4 separate regions of the Homo sapiens genome follow, and regions 2, 3 and 4 are each linked to region 1. The links are contacts of gene promoters, found by promoter capture Hi-C in blood cells and fetal thymus (Javierre and others, 2016). All regions are on one chromosome and are shown on one strand. Each heading gives the region's core, a stretch centred on a gene start or on the middle of the fragment in contact. The rest is flanking DNA. Distances are from core to core; before and after follow the strand shown. Region 1 holds the start of PLA2G7 (phospholipase A2 group VII). Region 2 has its middle 120 kb from the start of ADGRF1. Region 3 has its middle 3.1 kb from the start of ADGRF1. Region 4 overlaps ADGRF1 (adhesion G protein-coupled receptor F1).

What was found. Contacts are between HindIII fragments. The CHiCAGO score rates a contact against its expected background, and 5 or more counts as called.
Region 2: a fragment that was not itself captured here is called in contact with the fragment with the promoter of PLA2G7 in region 1 in 1 of 17 cell types (M0 macrophages); the score reaches 5.0 in M0 macrophages.
Region 3: a fragment that was not itself captured here is called in contact with the fragment with the promoter of PLA2G7 in region 1 in 1 of 17 cell types (M2 macrophages); the score reaches 5.2 in M2 macrophages.
Region 4: a fragment that was not itself captured here is called in contact with the fragment with the promoter of PLA2G7 in region 1 in 1 of 17 cell types (M2 macrophages); the score reaches 5.3 in M2 macrophages.

What each region holds. Positions count from the first base shown.
Region 1 is chr6:46,733,986-46,736,854 of GRCh38, reverse strand. PLA2G7 (phospholipase A2 group VII) reads left to right here and starts at 1,480. Exons shown (of 12, transcript NM_005084.4): 1 at 1,480-1,675. The HindIII fragment of the contact is 14,792 bases long and covers 177-2,869 here.
Region 2 is chr6:47,165,438-47,168,306 of GRCh38, reverse strand. No RefSeq gene overlaps it. Among named protein-coding and RNA genes, the nearest start is that of ADGRF1, 120 kb to the right of the region's middle. The HindIII fragment of the contact is 1,151 bases long and covers 856-2,006 here.
Region 3 is chr6:47,043,993-47,046,861 of GRCh38, reverse strand. No RefSeq gene overlaps it. Among named protein-coding and RNA genes, the nearest start is that of ADGRF1, 3.1 kb to the right of the region's middle. RefSeq lists an enhancer at 1,418-2,617. The HindIII fragment of the contact is 3,188 bases long and covers 1-2,869 here.
Region 4 is chr6:46,996,304-46,999,172 of GRCh38, reverse strand. ADGRF1 (adhesion G protein-coupled receptor F1) reads left to right here. Exons shown (of 15, transcript NM_153840.4): 15 at 1-1,465. Among named protein-coding and RNA genes, the nearest start is that of ADGRF1, 45 kb to the left of the region's middle. The HindIII fragment of the contact is 324 bases long and covers 1,315-1,638 here.

The sequences.
Region 1 (2,869 bases), core at 231-2,730:
TAAATCTGGGCACTCTTCACTGGGCATCTTCTCAGGGCACTAACCTGCCAAATGCCAACTGCTGTGGGGCTGCTCAGAGAATATGACCTAATGACAATGGGAGATGACATGTTGCTGGCAATGAGAGAAGTGAATAAAATGTTGCATACTTGTTTTCAGGAGCTGTTCTCAAAGCTTACCACCTTTTTAGTGTGGGATTAGGTCTTCAACTTCAACTTTGTCTTCACCTTTGTCTTAAGGTCAAAAGAAGACGTTAGAGATGTCTTTGGTAGGGCATAATGTATCCTTTTAGATTGATATTTGTGGGCCATTTGTTTTACAGGGGGTTAGTCCAGGAAGTACAAGACAATGTCATTAGGCGGATAGAGTTCCATTTAAATTAAAAATAAAATCTATTGTTAGGTTTAAATGAGTCACTGCTTCATTAAGCTATCAATATTAGATAACACATATTGAATGAATGTTTCCCATAGGCCAAGCTCTGTCCCAAGCATTTCACATGTATTTGCATTTCGTGCTCACAAACTGCCTCTGACTGACTGATTTTGATTTTCTTGATTTTATGGATGAGGAGACCGAGAAGCAGAGATGATGAACTTCCCCAAGGTCACACCACTCATAAGTGGGAGAAACAAGCTAAAATTCAGGCCATCTTACTGCAGAATACTCAAAATCAAAATAAGCAAAATTTCATCTCCAGTTCTGGCACCTCACCAAAAACCAAAACACGATTTAAAAATATAAAATTTTAATAACACCACACATAAATTTCAAACTACTTTCCCTAAGTTTCTAGCTGAAGTTTTAAATGAGTGTGTTTTTAATTTATTAGAAAGTGGATTGAAGAGAAAACATTGGAAGATGAAGGAAGGCGTTTCAGTTAAACCCCAAATAACTCTGTGTTACACTGAGCTATGAAACGGCTCCTTCTAGCTCCATTTCTCCTCAGACCTAAGTGCTATTCCTGATTGTCCTTCATTGTCATTTCCAGGGAGAAATGACACCAGCACAGTGGCAGGCCTTCCAATCTGGAGCACGGTCCACACAACTTCCGAATTGGTGTTCAGTGTAAAGTGTATCGGAGTGCGGAAAATGCGCAGGGCATTGCCAACTATAGATGCTCGGAGTAATTCAGTGTATTCAGAGAACACGGTGAAACAAGGAAAACCGGCCTGACTGGGGGGTGAATTCAGCAGGGAGTAAATCTGATCGGCATCAGGTCTGCGGAAAGGAGCTGGTGAGCACGACACCACCCAGGCATTGCCTGGCTCTCTCCGCGGCGGGCTAAGTTAACCGCGGGTCCAGGTGCGGGCCATGGTCTTGGGGAGGGTGCTGGGTGCGCTCGAGCAGGCTAGCGTCGGGAGCCGCCGCTGCTAGTGAGAGGCCGGGGCCACACACGCTCCTCCCCGGTACCTCCTCCAGCATCACCAGGGGAGGAGAGGGTCGGGGCCACAAGGCCGCGCTAGGCGGACCCAGGACACAGCCCGCGCGCAGCCCACCCGCCCGCCGCCTGCCAGAGCTGCTCGGCCCGCAGCCAGGGGGACAGCGGCTGGTCGGAGGCTCGCAGTGCTGTCGGCGAGAAGCAGTCGGGTTTGGAGCGCTTGGGTCGCGTTGGTGCGCGGTGGAACGCGCCCAGGGACCCCAGTTCCCGCGAGCAGCTCCGCGCCGCGCCTGAGTGAGGAGGGGCCCCGGGGGCGAGGCGGGAGTGGGAGGAAGGGCACGGTCGCCGCGCTGGAGGTCGGGACCCCGGAGCGGCGACCGGCCGGGGTGGGCTCGCTGAGTCGCACCCGCTCTGCTGGCCGGTCCTGGGCTCACAGTCCCTGCAGCCCTCGGAAACAGCGCTAGGATCCTTGCGGGGAGAGGGAGAGGATGACGGTATTAGACACCAGTTCTTCCAAACCTTTTCCCGAAAGGAAGCAACCCTAAGAGCTCAGAGCTGGGGGGAGAATCAGGACAGGCAGGGAACACATGGAGTTTTCTTTTCTTTTTTTTCTCTCTCTCTCTCTTTCTTTCGTTCCTTCTTTCTTTCTTTTGAGGCGGAGTCTCATTTTGTCGCCAGGCTGGAGTGCAGAGGCGCGATCTCGACTCACTGCAACCTCTGTCTCCCGGGTTCAAGCAATTCTCCTGCCTCAACTTCCCGAGTAGCTGGGACTGCTGGCGTGCCGTATCACGCTCGGCTAATTTTTTTGAATTTTTAGTAGAGACGGGGTTTCGCTGTGTTCGCCACAATGGTCTCGATCTCCTGACCTCGTGATTCGCCCGCCTCCGCCTCCCAAAATGCTGGGATTACAGGCATGAGCCACCGCGCCCGCCCCGGAGTTTTCTTATCTGTAGATCTCCTACAGGGACAATCTCTCTCTCCGTCTCTCTCTCTCTCTCTCTCTCTCTCTCTCTCTCTCTCTCTCTCTCTCTCTCTCTCTCTCTCTCTCTCTCTCTCTCACACACACACACACCACTACACACCTCTCACTCTGCCTCCTCTCTCTCTCTCCCTCCGCTCTCTCTCTCACACACCCTTCTCCCTCTCTCCCTCTCTCTCACTCTCCCTTTGAGGAGTATTGCGTTTTTGGAGCCCAGTTATGCGTGGCTGCTGTAAGAACAAAACAAAGCACTCTTTGTCCTACCTGGAGCATCCCCCTGCCGGCCAGATAAGATCACAGCTGTGTCACCAAGTCAAGGGAGAGGCTCATTTTTAAAAAATTAAGCAAAATCAGAAAACAGAGAACACTGTCTTCCTCATCATCTCCTGGAGCTTGTAAGAGAAATTTCTGTCACCAAAAACGAAAAGTTCGGGCTTTTATTCATGCCTGTGGTTCTTGGGATTACTGCAGTGGTGATGAGGAAGGAGAGGTGCGTATGGCTCATAAAT
Region 2 (2,869 bases), core at 182-2,681, 430 kb before region 1:
CTGATGCCTGCCAGGCTGGGCATGGCCAAATTGTGCATGTCAGTACCAGATCTGTAGACGCTTACAGCTCATGGGCTTCCTTGGGGAAATTTCAAGCTGATTGTAGTCAGTATTCTAGGCACATTTCAGTTTTATGTAACCTCATCTCCCATTCTCCAGGACATCTAGCACTCTCCAAATGACAAAACTTCCTAACTTTCAAAACAGTTTTTTAGATGTTTCATGACAGCTAGTAGCTGGTAAAGTCTGGGAAGTAACACCTTTCTATGGTCTCCTTGTTGCCTTCATTTAGATGCAAATTCTGCTCCTGTGATTCCTTTTGGCCTGCAACATAAAGAGTTTCAGTCAATGGATTTTTCCTCTCTTCATTCACAACACACATACGTGCACACTCACGCACACTAGTGCACTGAGTATTCCTCCCTCTATCTTTTGAAAAGAGTCCCACTTTTCTTGGGGAAACTCTTCTTTCCCTATTCCATGTGATCTGCTTAGAATGAATGATCTTTGTGGCTTTGTGTCATTCCAATGGTAGTGACCAGCAGGGCCTATGGATTAGTCCCAGTTACCAAGATTCCCAAAGCTGTTCCCTTCCCATCCTTCTGAGTGTTCAATACTATATTTTATTCTGTGAGCTATCCAGGACTTATTACTGAACTTCTTTTTTTGCTTAAGTTTATCAAGGTCCATTTCTGTGGTTTGGGATCAAGAAACCTATTGATTTGGAATGAAACACCATTTTGGAGGGCCTTCTCTACCCCAATTTTTCTGAAAGTGATAACATCATAATCATGTTGCTTAGCAGTCAAGTCTTTCCTAAGGAAGGATGATATATTGTATGGGATATTAAAAGCTTACTGCAGTTAGTACTAGCCTTATTCTTTTTACTGTAGGAATTCAGGTTGTATAAGCAGCAAAACTTCTTAACTTGCTATGTGATTTTTTAGGTGATTGGTAAAATTAAGCCAACTAGTAGAATAGATGGAGCAGTTTCCAGCCTGAGTACTCTTTAGAGGTTCGTGAAGCAAAAAGAGAGCATCCAGGCCCTCTGGTCCTTGCCAGCTGCAGCAGAGTGGGTGGCAAGAATCACTAGTATTAGGGCTAGCCAGATGCACAGACAGCTCAGAGGGAGGCATGCTGGGGGTGCAAGGATGGGGAGAAGGGAAGTTCAAACTCAAATGGTATTTCTTTGAGGTTGACTTGGAGACAATTCTGTTCTCTATCATTATGAATAAGTGGAGAAAAGTAAAAATGGCATTAACTAAATTTGATAATGGTACTAAATAAGGTAATATGCTTAGTAGTCCGGAAGACCAGAGAAAAATTAAAAATGATCTTAATGGTCTTATAGAAACAAGGTGGTATTACACAGGACCTGGACTCTCCCCTTAAAAAACTTAAAAGTATTTTAAGGGAATTGATCACTGACTGTTTAAAGAGGAAGGAAGGTAGCACAATATAATAGAAAGAGGGACTTTGGGGTGGCTGAGTGGGGTGGCTCATGCCTATAATCTCAGCACTTTGAGAAGCTAGGCGGGCGGATTGCTTGAGCTCAGGAGTTTGAGTCCAACCTAGAAAACATGGTGAAATTTTGTTTCTACTTAAAAAAAAAAAAAGGGTACCTGTAGTCCCAGCTACTCAGGAAGGTGAGATGGGAGGGTTTCTTGAGACAGGGGATGGAATTTGCAGTAAGCCAAGATTGTGCCACTGCACTCCAGCCTGGGCAACAGAGTGAGACCCTTTCTCAAATAATAAAAAATTAAGGAAAAAAGAAAGAGGGACTTTGGAGCCAAATAGATTTACATTCAAGCCCAACTCTACTAATAACATGATGATGTCAGCCAATGGCATTGATTAGGAATATCTTTGGGTTGCAAGTCACAGAAACCACAACCAGCAGTTGCTTTAGCCATAAATGAACATTTAATTATCTCATCTAACATGAAGCCTGGAGCTAGTTGGTACCAAATTACATGAAACAACTCATTGATATCGGAATACAAGCTTGGCATCTTTGCAATTTTCTTCATTGCCTCCTCTTAAACACAACATGGCATCAATGACTCTAGGCATTAGGTCCTCATATGACAGATTTTGTAACCCCAAAATCAGTATAGGTGGCTTTCATGGTCATTTGCAGACATGCACAGAGCAAGAAAACATTTGAGTCATCTGATAGATGTGTTCCCAGCTGGGGTCAAACAGGGTGATGCTGTGCCTTCTTGTTTCAGTTCTTCTACTGTTAACAAGTTTCCTTTTTGTGGTCTATTTAAGGCCATGTTTTCAAATATTTGTGCTTTATGTTGGTGATTTCACTGTTTAAAATGGCCTCACTGCATACTGCTGAAGTTCTGTTTGATTTCCTAAAGAACAGGAAGGCTGCAATGTGTCTTATGGAGAAAAGACATAAAAGACATACGTTAGATAAGCTTTTTTTTTTGAGACGGAGTTTCACTCTGTCACCCAAGCTGGAGTGCAGTGGTGCCATCTCGGCTCACTGCAAGTTCCACCTCCTGGGTTCACACCATTCTCCTGCCTCAGCCTCCCTAGTAGTTGGGACTATAGGCATCTGCCACCACACCCAGCTAATTTTTTTTTTTTTTTGTATTTTTAGTAGAGACGGGGTTTCACCGTGTTAGCCAGGATGGTCTTGATCTCCTGACCTGGTGATCTGCCCGCCTCGGCCTCCCAAAGTGCTGGGATTACAATGTGCCTGGCCAGATAAGCTTTATCCAGGCCTGAATTATAGTGCCGTTGGTGATTGAGTTCAATGTTAATGAATCAGTATTATATTTTAAATACAGTGTTTGAAACAGAAAAACATAATACAAGGTTATGCATTGATTGAGTGATGAAAACGTTGTGATCA
Region 3 (2,869 bases), core at 239-2,738, 310 kb before region 1:
TTTGCCTTTGCTTTTTCTTTGGATATTTAGCAAGGGTCAGACACTTCTATTTGTATTTTTCATCTGTCTTTAGGAAGCAGTAGAGAATAGTGTGACAGAACAGACTTTGAAGTCAGGTTGTGTTGATTTTCTGGCTCACCATTCACTTAACTGCTCGATGCCTTCACTCCATTGTCTATAAAATAGGGTTGCAGAACGTATAAAAACACATGAAAAATGATCACAACAGTACTTGGCACATAGGAAGTACTCCGTAAATGTTGGCTGATCCACCACAAAAAAAAAAAAAGAAAGAAACCAACAACAAAAAAAAGAATGAGATCTTGTCATTTGCAACAACGTGGATGGAGCTGGAGGACATTTAGTGAAATATGCCAGGTAAAGAAAGACAAACTTCACATGTTCTCACTGATTTGTGGGAGCTAAAACTAAAACAATTAAACTGATGGAAGTAGAGAAAAGAATGATGATTTCCAGAGGCTGGGAAGAGTAGTGGGCAGTGGGGGAGTGGGGATGGTTAATGGGTACAAAAATATCATTAGGTAGAATAAATAAGATCTAGTGTTTGATAGCACAATGGGGTGACTATATTCAATAACAATTTACTAAACATTTAAAAATACCTTAAAGTGTATAATTGGAATGTTTGTAACACAAAGAAATGATGCTGCATAACCGCAAAGGTTTGAGGTGATGATTACACATTGTATGCCTGTATCAAAATATCTCATGTACCCCATAAAAACTTATACCTACTATGTGCCCATACAAATTAAAAACAAAAAATTTAAAAAAAAGTTTGCTAAGCCAGGAACTGTGACTTACACCTGTAATTACAACACTTTGGGAGGCTGAAGCAGGAGGATCGCTTTGAGCTCAGGAGTTCAATACCAGCCTGGACAACATGGCAAAACCCCGCCTCTACAAAAAATACAAAAATTAACATTGGTGGCTCACGCCTGTGGTCCAAACTGCTTGGGAGACTGAGGCTGGAGAATCGCTTGAGCCCGGGAAGCAGAGGTTGCAGCGAGATGAGATAATGCCACTGCATTCCAGCCTGGGCGACAGAGTGAGACCCTGTCTCAACAACAACAACAAAATGTTGGCTGATACTAAGTGCTTGGTAGTTCTTCTCTTCCTCTAATTAGCTGTCCAGGTCTCAATTATAACACAATGCTACCCTACCCCTCTGATAAAAGCAATTTCTCATAAGTCACAGTGTCCAATGCTTGTCCTTAGGTAGCTTCATAATTTCAAACCCACCTCTCCTTATCTTAAGCCCTTGTTCCGAGTATGAAGAGCCTGTATCAGCTTTGATAAGACTTTTATCATAGTAGTCAGAAGAATCGTCTCGCTGAAATTTACAGTTTATACTCAACTCTTCTCTTTTTTACTCCTCCTTTCAGTTAAAAAAATTATACTTGCAATATATACATATACATATATATAGTGCTTTCAAACATTTTGCAACTATGGAATAAAACCACCTGAAACAGTCCAGGGTCTTTCACACTCCTGCATCATCACATCACTCAAGTCTGCCGTTTGTGTTTGCAGCCCCTGGGGTAAAACTTCTTTATGACCAAACTCAAAGAATGTCCAGCACTTCTGATGTATGGACATGGGCATCAGGGTCCTTCTGTAATTGGGTTCCTGTCCTTTTCTGGTTCACCTGCTGATCTGTCTAATTTAGATATTGTTTCACACCGAGTACTCACTCAGGGACAGTTTGTTGACATATGAATTTAGATAACTAGTTTCAATAACATGATTCTGTTTGCATTTTCTTTCTCCCAGGACTCAGGCTTATTGCTGTTTATTTGTGGGACCCTGCTCTTTTGCTTGGAAACCAAGCAACCAGACTCTTCACTAAACCAACACCAACAGATGAAGTTAGAAGGCTTGAAGCTCTTCCTCAGCCCCAGGCCTTTCTTCTTCTTCTTTTTTTTCCCCCCAGCATTTGTGGAATGTAAAGTTGACCAGATGAACCAAAATAAATTTGTTTACCTGGCTTCTTATGCTCAAGTGAACACCTTGTTCATGCCTGTGAAACATTACAATCAAACTAGAGGGGCAACAAAGCTCCACAGCTCTGCACTCAGAAGGTTGGCTTTGTCCTGAGCTCTTAAGGTAATAAGATGTCCGAATGCTGCCACAGTGCATAAACCCATGCTGCTTCCTTTTGCACTGTGTCCTTTGCAAGGACCAGAGAGCTCCTCAAACTCACCAGGAAGTACTGAGGAATTTAGTGTTGCGTGCACTAACAGATTCTTAGCAGGAAATTAGAAGCGGTGAGTAAACTGCTTTTTGGTGAGTCATCAGTTTCAAAAACACACCTTATTTATGAAACAATCTGAATATTGGACGTACTATGACTTCCTTCTATTAAACACGGAATTAAAAGACTATTAAATGCATTCATCTGTTTGGATTCAGATTTTCTCCAAAATCAATGTGCTCATGGAATCATTGATGTCTACCGGTTGCCTCACCTACTAGTGTCTGCTAAAGTGTTTTTGGTCTAATGAGACAATGTAGGGTTTCCTTTGGTTCTGAGGGCCATACCTTGGCCCTAGGAAGTTGTTGGGCTGCAGTGACACAATGAGCCAAAGGTGGATAACAGAGCTTCCATCTCAGCTTCAAGCCCTCACCACCTTAAACTCCACACTAGTTGGTCATTTCAACTGTTTCCACCCAATTCCATGGCCACTTTCTTGCTCTAGTGATTAGTAGATTATTAATTCCATTTTATAAACACATTCTTACTAGGATGTCAGTGAATTACTTTAAACACTTGTAATTTAATATAGACAATAGGAAAGGGGTGGCACTGAACTGAGAAGATGGCATCTCTCATCTTAAAACTTTA
Region 4 (2,869 bases), core at 227-2,726, 260 kb before region 1:
AAGCAGCAGGAGTTGACGCTATGTGAAGCAACACTTCTCTTCCATACTTCCATCACATTTGGCTCACCTACCTGAGTTTCAGCCGTGACCATAGTGCCCAGAGGAACCCGAGCCTTTGATTCATCCTTGCTGTTTTGAGAGGCCTAGGGAGTGTCTCTTAGCCTCCTGACATGGAAAGCCTTCATGCTATGCAAATAAAGACAGCTGGGGGAACTTCTAGTTAGTGGTGGTAGATTAAATAAGCATACCTGAGAGAAATTCAAAGTTAGACTTCCACAAGGCACCAAGGTGCAGCACACATGAAATATGAAAGTGAGAGGTTCAAAGGAAATGACTGAGGATCAGTTAGATGGTTCTATACCCCACAAATATGTATGAGAGTCAACAGAATTTTATGAGAAAGACTTCTTTGCAGAAAACTGCTCTATGAGCCTTCTCACTCTACCTACCCACAAAAGTGAGAGAAGGAGGAATGTCTGCTCCTTGACCTCAAATTTAGTGAGAGAAGATTTCTCAGATAGCTCAGATAGCTCAGATTTCTCAGAACCACAACAATTAGGATGCATGGCTGATGGAAGTCTGATTCTTGCCTAGAATTGTGGCCACAGCTCCGGTAGTAGAGCCCTGAATGAGTTCTGTGTTGAGAATAGCCTGTATGTCTAGTGTTTGTCAGGGCAATGGATGTGTGTGTTTCCCATGAACCATAGTGAGACATGCAAGAGTGAAGGTCAGCATGGGGCTCTTTTAGGTCCTCTCTGATAGGGTTGTCCAAAGAGGTGGAGGGAACCCAGCATCAAGAAGTGGGAGGTGAAGCCAGATTGTGGGATGAGGAAGGAGTCACAAATGACCACCTGGAATACAAAAAAATCTACACAAGCTAAAGATGAGAAGTCAGGGCTATGAGAATTTCTATGGGAGTTCTTGAATGCTCCCTCTCTTATTACACACAATTACTATCCAGAGAACCCTGACACCATGTGAAGGCAGCCCTATCTCATAAGACAGATTTCTTTTTTTGGGGACCTTGGGGAAAGGGAGGCCAGAAACCTCCGTGTCCAAGGTGGGGTGGAAGGAGAGGGAGAAATCTTAGCAAAAATGTCAACCAGCAAGGGAAGATGTGCTAGCGCAAGTAGGCAACTCAACACAAGACTCAGTTGGAGAGGGAAGAAAAATTTAGTACTAAATTATTGTAGTTTCTTCTTATTGTAGGCGACTGGGAGTCATAATTACCAAACTATTTAAAATGACCAAAATGTTGCTCTTACCTGAGTATGTTGGCATACAACTGGAATGTATCTGATGGAAGAAAAAGCTTCTCCCACTGAATAAATTTTATGAGGATGATGAGAGACAAAAAAATGTTTGATCAGATATCATGTATGTGCATGCTTGTCTAATTCACTGATTATGCATACATTCACCTCAAAATGCTACTAAAACAACAATAAAATAATGAAAAAGTGAATAGCATTGTAATAATTTTCTATTGCTGTGTTTTCTATTATAATAGTTTATTCCATTTCTGTTATGATAGTTTTTTATTGCTGCATATAAAATTGCTGCAAACTCAGCAGCTTAAAGCAACACACATTTATTATCTCAAAGTGGTCATGGGTGGATTCCATGCACAGCTAAGCTTGTACTTTGCTCAGGGTTACACAAGGCTGTCATCAAGGTACTGGATGGACTGTCATGTCATCTGGAGGTGCAGGTGGGGAAGAATTCACTTCTGACTCATTCAGGTTGTTGGCAGAATTTGTCCCCTTGTGGTTGTGGGAATGAGAATGGTGGCTTTTTGCTGACTATTGGCTAGAGTTCATCCTCAGACCCTAGAGGCCACCCCTATTTTTTTCACCACATGGGCTTTTCCAACTTGGCCACTTACAACATTAAGCCTGCAAGGACAGTCTCTAACTCCAGTCTGCTTTTAAGAGAGAGTCTTGTTTAATGTAAGATAATTAGGAGAGTGACAACCCATAACTTTTGCCATATTTCACAGGTTAGAACCAAGTCACAGGCCCTGGCCACAATCGAGAGGAGGGCATTTCAAAAGGTGTGAATGCCAGGAGGGAGGGATCACTGGAGGTCACAGACATGAAATTCCAAAGATTGGGAACAAGAGAGGAGATAACAGCAACACACCTTTGGAAAGCAGGTGGGGTGGTGTGAACTGACTTAGAAGACCTGAGAAAGTTAAATATTAAGCCAGTGGTGGGGAAAAACAAGAAGCAACCTACTTTACACTGCAGAATCCCCCAAGAGACTTAAGACTTTGCAGCACCAGGTACCTTAAGAATTTGGATGAATATGGGACTGAATAGTAGATTTGGTTGGTTCAAGTTCAATTTAGGAAGCATCTGGTCCCCCAGGTACCTCTCTAATCCCAAGTAGCCAAGCAAATGTCCTTTCCTTCATCCTACTAATAGATTATATGGAGATGTGGAAAAAGATGGGATATTGGGACTGAGAGACAGCAGAATCAGTTGGGAGAGGTTTTCCCATCCTGAAAACAAAAGGTTTAGTGAAAGTTGACATATAACAATGGCAGCAAGTCTTACATTTTTAAGGCAAGAGTCTTGTATGAGTCCATTCTCATGCTGCTGATAAACACATACCTAAGACTGGGTAATTTATTTTAAAAAAAGGTTTAATGGGCCCACAGTTCCACATGGCTGGGGAAGCCTCACAATCATGGTGGAAGACAAAGGAGGAGTAAAGGGACTTCTTACATGGCAGCGGGCAAGAAAGGGAGTGAAAACGATATGAAAGGGGTTTCCCCTTGTAAAACCACCAAATCTTTTGAGACTTATTTACTACCATGAGAACAGAATGGGTAAAACTGGCTCCATCATTCAATTATCTCCCACTG